Linked DNA regions of Homo sapiens: region 1 is linked to region 2. The links are contacts of gene promoters, found by promoter capture Hi-C in blood cells and fetal thymus (Javierre and others, 2016). All regions are on one chromosome and are shown on one strand. Each heading gives the region's core, a stretch centred on a gene start or on the middle of the fragment in contact. The rest is flanking DNA. Distances are from core to core; before and after follow the strand shown. Region 1 overlaps SAMTOR (S-adenosylmethionine sensor upstream of mTORC1). Region 2 holds the start of TMEM168 (transmembrane protein 168).

Region 1 (5,727 bases), core at 353-2,852, 140 kb after region 2:
ACTTTGAAACTCAATTTACTCTATAATTATTCTACTAGCTATAAGATGCAAAGAACTGAAAATACACAGAAACCTACTACCCTACAACTTTTTAGAAGACCTCTAGTTTTTCATACTCAACAAAATTCTCTGAAATACCACCTAATGAAATTTTATGGCTATCTACCTCACTGAAGTCCTAAGGAAGAATTCAAACTTTGTAGGCTAATGCAACTCAGATTAACCAAACAACTTCAATTTAACGATTTCATTAACATTGAGGAGTCTGCAGACTCTCACAAAGTGTGTTGACACTGAAAATTGATGTGATTCATAAAGTGAAGTATACTTAAATATATAACTGACAGTAGAAGATGCACCTGTATATATTTTTCCTTCTTTCAACAGATTTTCTTTTAAAAATACTCCATATTAAATGCTACAGAAAATAAAGTTAATGAGCAGGCATTGGTATCAAAAAAAGGGGAGAAGACATGTAAAATGTGGAAATGCTATAAAAGAGATATGAACCTGACGGGTTCCCTATATCCTATGCAAGGCATCCTGGACCCAAAACTTTTATTTCATATATTTATAAAATAAAAATGTTTCAAACTCTGACTACTGTGTATACATTTTGTTAAAAGTCTGGTGGTTATAAAATTGAACAAAAAACATAGCTGGCCTTTAGTTATGAGAAAATTCCACTTCCCAAAATACCTCTGAAAGCTTAAGGTAATTTTAAAAATAAATGAAATTATTAAAAAGGAATGAGAAAAAGTATTTTCATAATAGCCCATTTTTTGTTTTTATAGTATTTAAAATAATGGTATTTAAATTTTGAGCAAAGTTTTTCAAAGTAATCTATGATTCAGGTTCTAAAATCCAAAAAAAGTTAGGGTTCACCAGTGCCCAGTATAATATTTAAAACTCCTCTACCAACTCAAACTGCATATACAAACAATATATTAAAACTCAATTTTAAGGATTTTTTTATCACTTAGTTATTAGGTCAACTAATAATTAAAAGATATACTATTTAAAAGGACAACATTTTTTCATTATTAAAAGGTAAATCAGGAGCTAGAACTTCTTGAAGTTTGCATGAAAGGTCTAGTCAACACAGTATAAGAAACATTTAGGTCTTCAAGTTCTATCAGAACTCTCAATGAATTAATAATTAGCCTTATGATTTATTTTAATATAATGGCATCTGTGAATGACTCAAAAGTGTTGTAATTAATAACCCATTTTCTTACCAATTTCTTATAGGCATTCTAGAAAAAATACATGTGTCTTAAAGTAAAAGTGAGACAGAGAGAAAGAGAGAGAGAAAGAGACAGGTACAAGGGGAAAGGGAGGCGTGGAGAACAAAATCTGCAATGGGTACACACGTTTTACTTTGACCAACTACAGAGAATTCACAAATTATTTTTAGAAAGCACAATTCAAAAATATATGCTCTACAGCTTAAATTGTCTTACAAAATTCTAGAACAAAGTTCACATTAACATGACTTCTATTTAGTTATCCCATAACATTTAAATTTTTCAAACACCCATTTTAAAAAACAAATTCGTAATTTTAAACATGAGTGATGCCAACTTAAAGTTGCCAAACCAAGTTCAATATGATAATCAATGAACCAAATTATTTTGAATCTTATATCAAGATAATACCATAACTATTGCATTGACTAAACTCACCTTCAAAAACACTATGTCACAACTAAAAAATAAATTAGGAGCTACTAATAAAAGGACAATGACAACTAGGAAAGAATAGCACATTCATTAATTTAAAAAGAGTTCCATTTTTAATAACTTTGTGATTAAGACATTATTACAATGCAACTGCCTTTGTAAAAAAACAAGTACAAGGAAATGGGTTTAAAAGTATTTTTGCTCTACATAACATCCAGAAGCGCAGCTCTAAAACAGTTCCAAATTAAAGTGAACCAATGGAATCCCTAAATTATTTATTTAGAGTTGATATTATTCTTTCTTTATGAATTAACCTCTCTCCTGCCATCTGGTACAGCATTTTTTTTCCTTCAAAATGTAACTGAATTCATATTTTCTTCAAGAGGGTTTATCTGCCTCCCACTTTATCATCTTACACTTCCCTCATCTGCCATCCTTACGGTACTTTGTCATTCATTTATACATACTGTCTATTAAAACCAGGTGTGATTTTCCCAATAGAAAGTATAAATGGAAAAGCAAAGACTACTTTTGATTTACAATTTGTATAAATTAGAGAAGTTAATTAGGGTGCTCAGTCAGTGGAGGACAAAATATTTAAATTTTCATCATGCTCAAAAAATAAACATGAAAAGTATAAACAAATTAAATTAGTTGCTAAGATAAAATTCAAACTACAGAGGATGGCTTTCAATAAATAGCAGTCACTCAAAAGCAGAATTTAAATTTTTCACAATAGTTACTGTTTTCAAAGTAAGAGTTCCAAGGTCAGAAAAGCAATAATTTCAATGTCATTTTTCTAGAGACCATTGTTTTAAGCTTATTAAAAAGGCTTTTTCATTTTGTGTTATTGTCAAAAGAAAACCTTGCAGCTGACAGTCCAGTCATATCCATTAAGTTCTTTAATAGCAGTACACAGATCTTTTCGAAAAATTTATTAGCTCAAGGAGAAATGAACAGTAACACCACCAAATAGATAAAGAATTACTTATATGTGAAAAAAATGAATAGGTGGTGCTAAGGTTCATGCATTTTTACATGCCAGGACCACTTGATTTTTATATACTTGATGTGTATAAAAATAATATTTTTTCTCAATAACTCTATCCTAATTCTCCTTTTTAAAACATACAAAGCACAGAAAATAAGTTAGCAAGTATATATGTGATGCCATTTTAAGATAAAAATATATTTACAAACCATATACCTGATAAGGGGTTAATATCCAAAAGATATATAAAAAAAACCTCAAACTGAATAGCAAAAAAACAAATAATCTGACTAAAAAATGGGCAATGACCTGAATAGATATTTTTCCAAAGACAACACAAAAAATGGCCAATGGGTATATAGAAGGGTGCTCAACAAAACTAATCATCAGGAAAATGCAAATTAAAACCACAATAAGATACTACCTCCCATCTGTTAGGATGGCTATTATCAAAAAGACCAGAGATAACAAGCATTGGTGAGGATGTGAAGAAAAGTGAATCCTGTATACTTATGTTGGGTATGTAAATTAGTACAGCCAAAACAGTATGGAGGTTCCTAAAAAAATTAAAAATAAAACTACTACATGATTCAGCAATCCCACTATGGGTATTTATCCAAAGGAAATGAAATCAGTATGTCAAAGAGATATCTGCAATCCTATAATCATTGCAGCATTACTCACAATAGCTAAGAAACGAAAATAAATGGAGGTGAATCTATAGTGAAAAGACATGTGAGACTGAGAGTATAGAGAGAGACCGACTGCAAAGAAGTATGAGAAAATTTTGGCAGTGATGAAAATGTTCTACGCCTTATTGTGGTAATGGTTTTACAGAGATGCATGCATTGTCAAAACTTACGGAATTATATACTTTAAAAAGACACAATTTACTGTACATGAATCATATCTCAATAAATTTAATTTTTAAAAATGATGTGCCACAAGCATGGTATATGTTACAAAATTAAGATTATATTTCATTAAATTTGAGGGCCATCAAATTCTCTAAAAAAGCAAAAAAATACATGAGTATCAAAAGTCTTAAACTTTTAGAAATTCAGAACAATTTATTTGATTCTGACTTAGGCATATTGCCAAATACGGGCCCTAAGATGCCTTATCTGTAGATGACAAGACTACCAAATTCAAGTTCAAAGTACCTTTAATGGTCATTTTCTCTAACACAAGGTAAGTAAAGAAACTCATGACTAAGTGCAAACAAGTTCAGCTACCATTTCAAGGCATTAAAACAAAATGTTCAGAATTCAGATTGTCTTACATAGTTAAGCCATACAACGACCAGTCTTCTCAGCTCTTGAGCACCTGATACAGTGACACATCTAAAAGTGGGATAAAAAACATCCAAGGTGTTTGGTAATTAAGAGCCAAAAAGTAACCAGAAAACAAAAAGTTTGAAAACCTGCATCTTATAGCCAACATGTTATGAATAGTCATTTCTCTAATGTGGGAAGAAAACACCACCAATATTCTGACATGCTAAAAAGGTTGGACTTTTCATATAAAAACTTAGAAACACAAACAGCAAAAGGGGCAAAAAAAAAAAAAAGAAGAAAAAGAAAAAGTCATTTTAATACTGAGAAGACTACAGAACAGTCTAGGTAAAAATTCCAGGAGCCATCCAGTCTTTAATGTCATAGTCCTTAAATGCATTGAAGCAGTATAGCTACAGATAAAAGAGCTGTTATTTTTAAATTTCTGTATTTTACAAGCTTAGTGTGTTTCCTATATGCCAAATGTTGTTTTAAGTGCTTTTCAAATATTAACTCATTTAATTATAATACCAATCCATTGAGGCAGATATTTTACTTTATAGATGAGGAAACTGAAGTAGAGCGATTAAGTAAACTTTTCCAAGGTTACACAACAAACCTGGTAGTCAAAAGCTAAAGTCATGCTCCTAACCACAAACTTTGCTTCTCTTCATAAGTTTTTAATTCATGAACTTTCATGGATATGAGCAAAGCTTTGCAACAGAGGAAAGTACACAGACTCTACTAACCACAAACAAATGGTCTTTTGTCAGTCAAATGCAGTTATTTAGTCTCTGCAACTGCATTATTTGTTAGATTTCTGGCAGTGGTTCTCAACTCTGGCTGCCAATTCTGGCTGCACATTGGAATCACCCAGAAGTTTCATTTAACTGGTCTGGAGTGGCAACTGGTCATTTAGTTTAACACTCCCCGGATGAATCCAACGTGTAGCTATGGCTTAAAACCAATGGTGTATAGCAAGGTTGTGAGCTTAAAAGCCTGGCAAAATAATATAGAGAGCAGGGGGTTGGGACAACCTTAAGAGTCCAATTTAATTAACAAAAAAAAAAACACAACAAAACAAATCAATGCATGGATTAAACTTAATATCTACAAACACTGGCTCACGGTGTATCTTCTGTTCTTGGAACAGCCTTTTATTATAAACATATCAACGATAAAAATACTTACTCCAAAATGCAAGTCTGTGAACACATCCTATAAGGCAGATGGAAAGAAATCAAGAAAAATCATAACCAATGTCACCAACATGTTATTCCCTTGTGAAAGTGAACTTCACAGGTGGGTCTATGACCACACAGAGCACTTGCTTAGTTTAATTTTCAACTTTCAAACAAAAGGATTTATGAACAGCCTTTTGGAACTTAATTTTCATATGTTCAATTAAAAAGTCTTACCCTAATTTCTATATAAATGGAAATGGATACTCACATGCTGCTCTAAATGCATGAAGATTAACCACCTATTCTAAAATAAACACAGCAATGGGTATTAGTGTATCTACACTTAAAGCACAATAGGTCAGTATAGTTTAGTGGTTGTCAGATGTTAGATTTTGTAACTAGTATAAATTTCACTTCAAATTTAAGAGACTGATATATTGGGGTTGAAAAATTTTTATCTGTAAATATAAACAAATACACAAAACTATTACTTTTTTTTTTTTTTTCTTTTTTCGGGATGGAGTCTCGTTCTGTCACCCAGGCTGGAGTGCAGTGGTGCAATCTCGGCTCACTGCAACCTCCGCCATCCAGGTTCA
Region 2 (5,442 bases), core at 2,646-5,145:
AGGTACCACATAATGTTAAAGAAAATGTCTTCCTTTGGTATATTTTGGTTTATCTTTTTAACTTGAGTGTGAGAAACTGACAAAATCTGGAATGCATTGAGTTTTTTTTTTTTAAACATCACTAATGTGTGTTATAAAATAATTCAACAAATACGTTAGAATATATATCCTCAAAGAGCTGATGGTACAATCTGGGCTCAGACTACTGAACACTGCTGGACGGGGGGAAGAAATTCACATACTAGGCTAAATGGTGCCACTCTAAATCCATGGAACATCCTTCCCTGGTCAACATTCTTCCCCATTCTTGTGACTATTCAAACCCCTATTTCCTCTCTTCAAATCTCTGATACCCTACTTCTTCCTACTGCATTCTCACCAGATGACTCTGCCTCCTAGAGAGTCATCAAAAGGGAGCTCACTTGAGTTTCCAAGTCCACAAACCCACCTCTACTTATATCTCCGAATATAAGGAAAGAAGGCAGTTGCTTCTCTATCTAAGGCTAAACCTTTCAGCCATATTGTGCATCTTTCCTTCCGCCTCTTCTAGAACATCAGACTCTCTCCTCTCTCTGCAAACTCTCACTTTTATTTTATCCATTAGTATTTAAACATTTATAAATCTGTTTCTTTTAAAAACAATACCAAAAAAGTAAAGAAACAAAACAAAAACAATCCTTGCTCATCCCCATATCCTCTATGAAGCTCAATCTCGTGTCCTTTTGACAGCTGGTATTTAGTTGCTTCACTTCTTACCCATTCACTTTTCAAACCACTAAATGGTGTTTCCCACCACACAACTGCTCTGCTAAGTGTTGAAATGACCTGTAAATTCCTAAATCCAATGGGTACTTTTCACTCAGTATCCTGCATATTCTTTTTTGGGGGGAGGGGGAAGGGGGGACGGAGTCTCGCTCTGTTGTCCAGGCTGGAGTGCAATGGCAGGATCTTGGCTCACTGCAACCTCCGACTATCGGGTTCAGGCGATTCTCCTGCAACCTCTGACTATCGGGTTCAAGTGATTCTCCTGCCTCAGCCTCCAGAGTAGCTGGGATTACAGGCGCCCATCGCCATGCCCAGTTAATTTTTGTATTTTTAGTAGAGACGGGGTTTCACCATATTGGCCAGGCTGGTCTCAAACTCCTGACCTCAGGTGATCCACCCGCCTCGCCTCCCAAAGTTCTGGGATTACAGGCGTGAGCCACTGCGACTGGCATTTTTTTTTTTTTTTTTTTTTTTTTTTTTTTTTTTTGAGACAGAGTTTCATTCTTGTTGCCCAGGCTGGAATACAATGGAGCGATCTCGGCTCACCGCAACCTCTGCCTCCCGGATTCAAGCGATTCTCCTGCCTCAGCCTCCCAAGTAGCTGGAATTACAGGCATGTGCCACCATGCCCGGCTAATTTTGTATTTTTAGTAGAGATGGGGTTTCTCCATGTTGGTCAGGCTGGTCTTGAACTCCCGACCTCAGGTGATCCGTCCGCCTTGGCCTCCCAAAGTGCTGGGATTACAGGTGTGAGCCACTGCACCCGGCCATATCCTGCATATTCTTTAAACAAATTTACATTGTTGACTTCTCTCACCTTCCAAACCATTCCTTTTTGCAGGCATCCAAAGACTAACTCCCCAGATTTTTTTTCTTAATTTATTGGTTTCCCCTCCTCGGTCTCCTTGAAGGTTCTTCATTCTCAACCCATCCTTTGGATGTTCAACCCCAAACCTAGGCTTTTCTCTCACTATATACTTTCTCTAAGCAATGTCATTTATTTCTATGTCTTTGATTATTATCTCTCTACTTAAGTGCACACATATATTAATCTACCTATAGAAAATGAAGCACCAGCTCTGTTCTGCACTGTTAACAGAGGTAAATACCTGGAAACAAAGTAAATGTAAACATGTAAAAAAAAAATTAGTGAAGTACAGTGCATCCATATAATGCAATATATGCAGTTACCTTCCTATGGACCAAAATCAACATGGCAGATTGTTTTTAAATGGCTAATTTACAAAACTCTTCCCCATTCTGATCTTCTTCAAAAGACAGCCTGAGTTAGAGAATAACAGAAAAACATTACATTCCTTTTCAATCGGTTTGCCGTCACTAATGATTCAATGGACAATTATTCCAGAGGTAGATGAAAATGGACCATAGAGGAGTCAATATGCATATGGGAAAAGCTAACCAATCACTGCCAGAGTCTGATTATTTCATAAAACCTTACATACTATTCTAACCCTCCTCTCCACCATCATCTACATTTAATCCTCACCAAGTCCTGTCTACTATTCTTCCTAAACATTTTTTAAATGTTTCTACTTCTCGTCCCCAGGGTCACCATCCCAATTTTGGCCACCATCATGTTGAACATTTCCCTGTATCCACTCTTGCCCTCTCTAAGAAGTGTACTTTTTAAAACCAAAATTTAGCACTCCACTATGTAAAATGCTCCAATGGCGTCCCATCACCCTTAGCAATAAAGTCAAAACTCCTTACAGTGCCTTATAAGGCACTCCGTGTTGGGCCTGAATAACTCTCCTGCCTTATCTGTTACCAGTTTTCCTCTCACACTTTATTTTCCAACCTTACTGACCTTTCAATTACAAACTGCACAAATGCTATTCCCTTGCCAGGTACACTCCTTTTCCTCCTCCTGGCCCCACCCCAGTGCTCACACCTGGCTTATTCCAACTCTTCAGGTCTCAGATAAATCATTTTCTTAAGAGATTATCCCTGCCCCCTCCCCATTACATGACCCCCATACTTTCTCTGTTACATACCATCACTTATTTCATGTCTGCATTTCCCACTAGATCAAAAGGTCTCTGAGGGTTTGTCTTCAATACTGTACACCCAGTGACTAGCAAAAATCCGGCATCAAGAAGGTATTCAATAAATACTTGTTGAAAAATAAAGACTAATAAAGAAATAACTACATTTAACAACAATAGTCACCATTGGACACTTACTAATGCCTAAAGAGAATACAGAACTTAGCTATATCCCACAACTAATAACTAGTAGAACTAAGGGAGAGTCCATGAATGTTTGGTTTCTATTTCAGCTTTCCACCAGTCTTTACTTAATTCACCCAAATTCTTCCAAACCAATTCTCTCTCCATGTCCTACCTCTAGGGAATGGCTTGAGGCATACCGTATCACTTGCATTATCTTTCACTCAGAAACTCTGTCCCATCTAGAAGTGTCAAGGCTGAAAGAACTACACTGAAAAAACAGGGAATTTCAGTGCTTCAGTTCTGAATTACTGATAACTCTTTGAGCCATCTCATACGAGGAAAATGTCATCTAGAATATCAAACTCCTCAGCACTAGAGCAGCAACAGCAATTTCTCTCCCTTTCGGCCTCCTTCTAGCGAGATGTGGGAGGTCCGACAAGGAGCTTGGCTGTTCTCCACCATCCTCTGCCTCGGAGAACGCGACCACAACGTGGCGCCCAGTTGAGGGGGAACCCTTGCGAAATACGGAGAGGCGCTCCCACACCCTCCAATCTCCAACCACCACTGTCAACTCCTCCAGAGGCAGGTATCCTACCCCGGCCCTGGGAGGCCGACTGGGCGGAGCTTGGGGTCCGGACCACGCGGAGCCCTGGCAGTGTCTATGCCTAGATCTCGCCGCCCTGCCGTCCACCCATTTCTCCCTACCTGACTCGGCCGTCGCCACCAACGCGCTCTCCCAACCCTCGGAGTCAGTTCCAAAACCAAACCAAAAAGGAGGAGAGCAGACAAGGCTTCAGCCTGCGACTGAGAACAGGGAGGCGGCACGCCTTGGGGAACGAGGGCCCGAGGCCATACGCGCTAATACAGGCCAGTGTCGGCGTAAACTTTCTCCGTTACCGGCCCGGCCGCGACCGCCATGTTTCCGCCGCCGAAATCCGCGACGGTACGGAACGCCGCCGGGGTCAAACTGCGCGGCGCGCCTCCTTCCCGAGGCCCGGCCCCCTCCCCGCCCAAACCCGCGCGCCGCCACACACTCAGGTGAGCAAGGCGCTGCGCGAGTGTCAACTGCCCCACCTAAGGCGCCTGCCTTCCTCAAGCCAAAGTCGACTCCTGGGACCTGGAATCAGCAGCTGAGAACAGACAGCGGGAAGACCACCAAAGATCAGGCTGACAGTGCCCATCAAGCATCTAGGCCACCGCCTCGGGCTGGACCGAACGGGGACAGGGTGGACAGGACTGCCACGCGTGGGCTGTAAATACTGCGGGAGGCGTTGCTGCTCATTAATATATATGGCATAATATATGGCTTTGTAACCAGCTAAGGCCCAAGCTCCTTAGGCCCTCCCTCAGACCTTTCAGTTCCTCAAATGCAGGGACATGTCGGGTTTTGCTCAACATTAAATCACCTTAGCATAGTGCCTGACACATAGTTGGCACTTAAATATTTGTAAAATAATAATATGCAATAGGCTCTCCACGATCCGTAGTTCTCTCCTCCCACTTGTTTTGCATGTATTATCTATATATTTTTCCTATTTTCCATAATAGAGTGTGAATTTCCTAATTTTCATAATAGATGTTGGGGGTTGGTGTGGCCAGCACATCTATAGGAATGAACAACTCTCAGATTGAGATTCTGCATATGTGGATGAAAATTTTGAGTTAGATTCTCTCTAGACTCCTGATTTTAAAAGCAATCACAACTCAACTTCCCAAATCTGTAACTAGCTCTCTGGGGAACACGAGTGCCACATTTCCAACTACCTGCTAGATGTTTCTACTCAAATATATTGTCATCACTTCCAACTCAACTTGCCTTTAATGGACATTTATATACATTTATTATGCCCCCCATTTGAATCCCCTTCCGTATTTGGAGAATTCCCCACCTGAGTTAAGAGTCTAATGGCTGCCGCTGAAATGCTGAACACTTGTTTAACTAATCATGTGTACCCGCTGGAAGCCATGAGTCAAAAAAGGCACAGAAAGCTACACTCCCAGGTCACCTGTAGGAGTATAGCAAGTGTAGAGATCGAGAACCCATCCCTAACAGCAAGGTAAGCTTCCGAGGCAGTAGTGAGAGTGCTGGCATCCACCATTAACATGTCAGAGATGCAAGATGCCTGTGCTTGGTGAGGGTCACAACCCCAGAGCCCTTTCCCAATCTGTTCTGTAGCCTGTTAACAGTCTCTGTGTACATTTCTGGGTAGCCTGTGACAGACTCTGTACTACATAGCTGTGAGGCAGGACAATAGGGTCTGGAGGCAAGGAACTTACGGCTGATTCATGCTGACTTTCTAGAACTAAATCAAAAGGAAAGCCCCAACTTTCCACAGCTAAGTAACAAAGGGACCCGGCCCCCTCCCCCACCACCGCCCTTTTCTGCGTGGCAGACGGAAAATTGAAAGTACCTCGGATTGGTTGCTTTCCATAACTAATTAAATGTTTGCATAGGGTGTAACCTTTGTAACTTCGCTTCAGGCTC

Evidence for each region. The method cuts DNA at HindIII sites, captures the fragments that hold promoters and counts their contacts. A CHiCAGO score of 5 or more calls a contact.
Region 1: a fragment that was not itself captured here is called in contact with the fragment with the promoter of TMEM168 in region 2 in 2 of 17 cell types (naive CD4 T cells and monocytes); the score reaches 5.9 in naive CD4 T cells.

What each region holds. Positions count from the first base shown.
Region 1 is chr7:112,926,299-112,932,025 of GRCh38, forward strand. The region is part of intron 1 of SAMTOR (S-adenosylmethionine sensor upstream of mTORC1); the gene reads right to left. Among named protein-coding and RNA genes, the nearest start is that of SAMTOR, 11 kb to the right of the region's middle. The HindIII fragment of the contact is 1,793 bases long and covers 707-2,499 here.
Region 2 is chr7:112,786,498-112,791,939 of GRCh38, forward strand. It overlaps TMEM168 (transmembrane protein 168), which reads right to left and starts at 3,896. Exons shown (of 5, transcript NM_022484.6): 1 at 3,663-3,896. RefSeq lists an enhancer at 4,155-4,284. The HindIII fragment of the contact is 5,754 bases long and covers 1-5,017 here.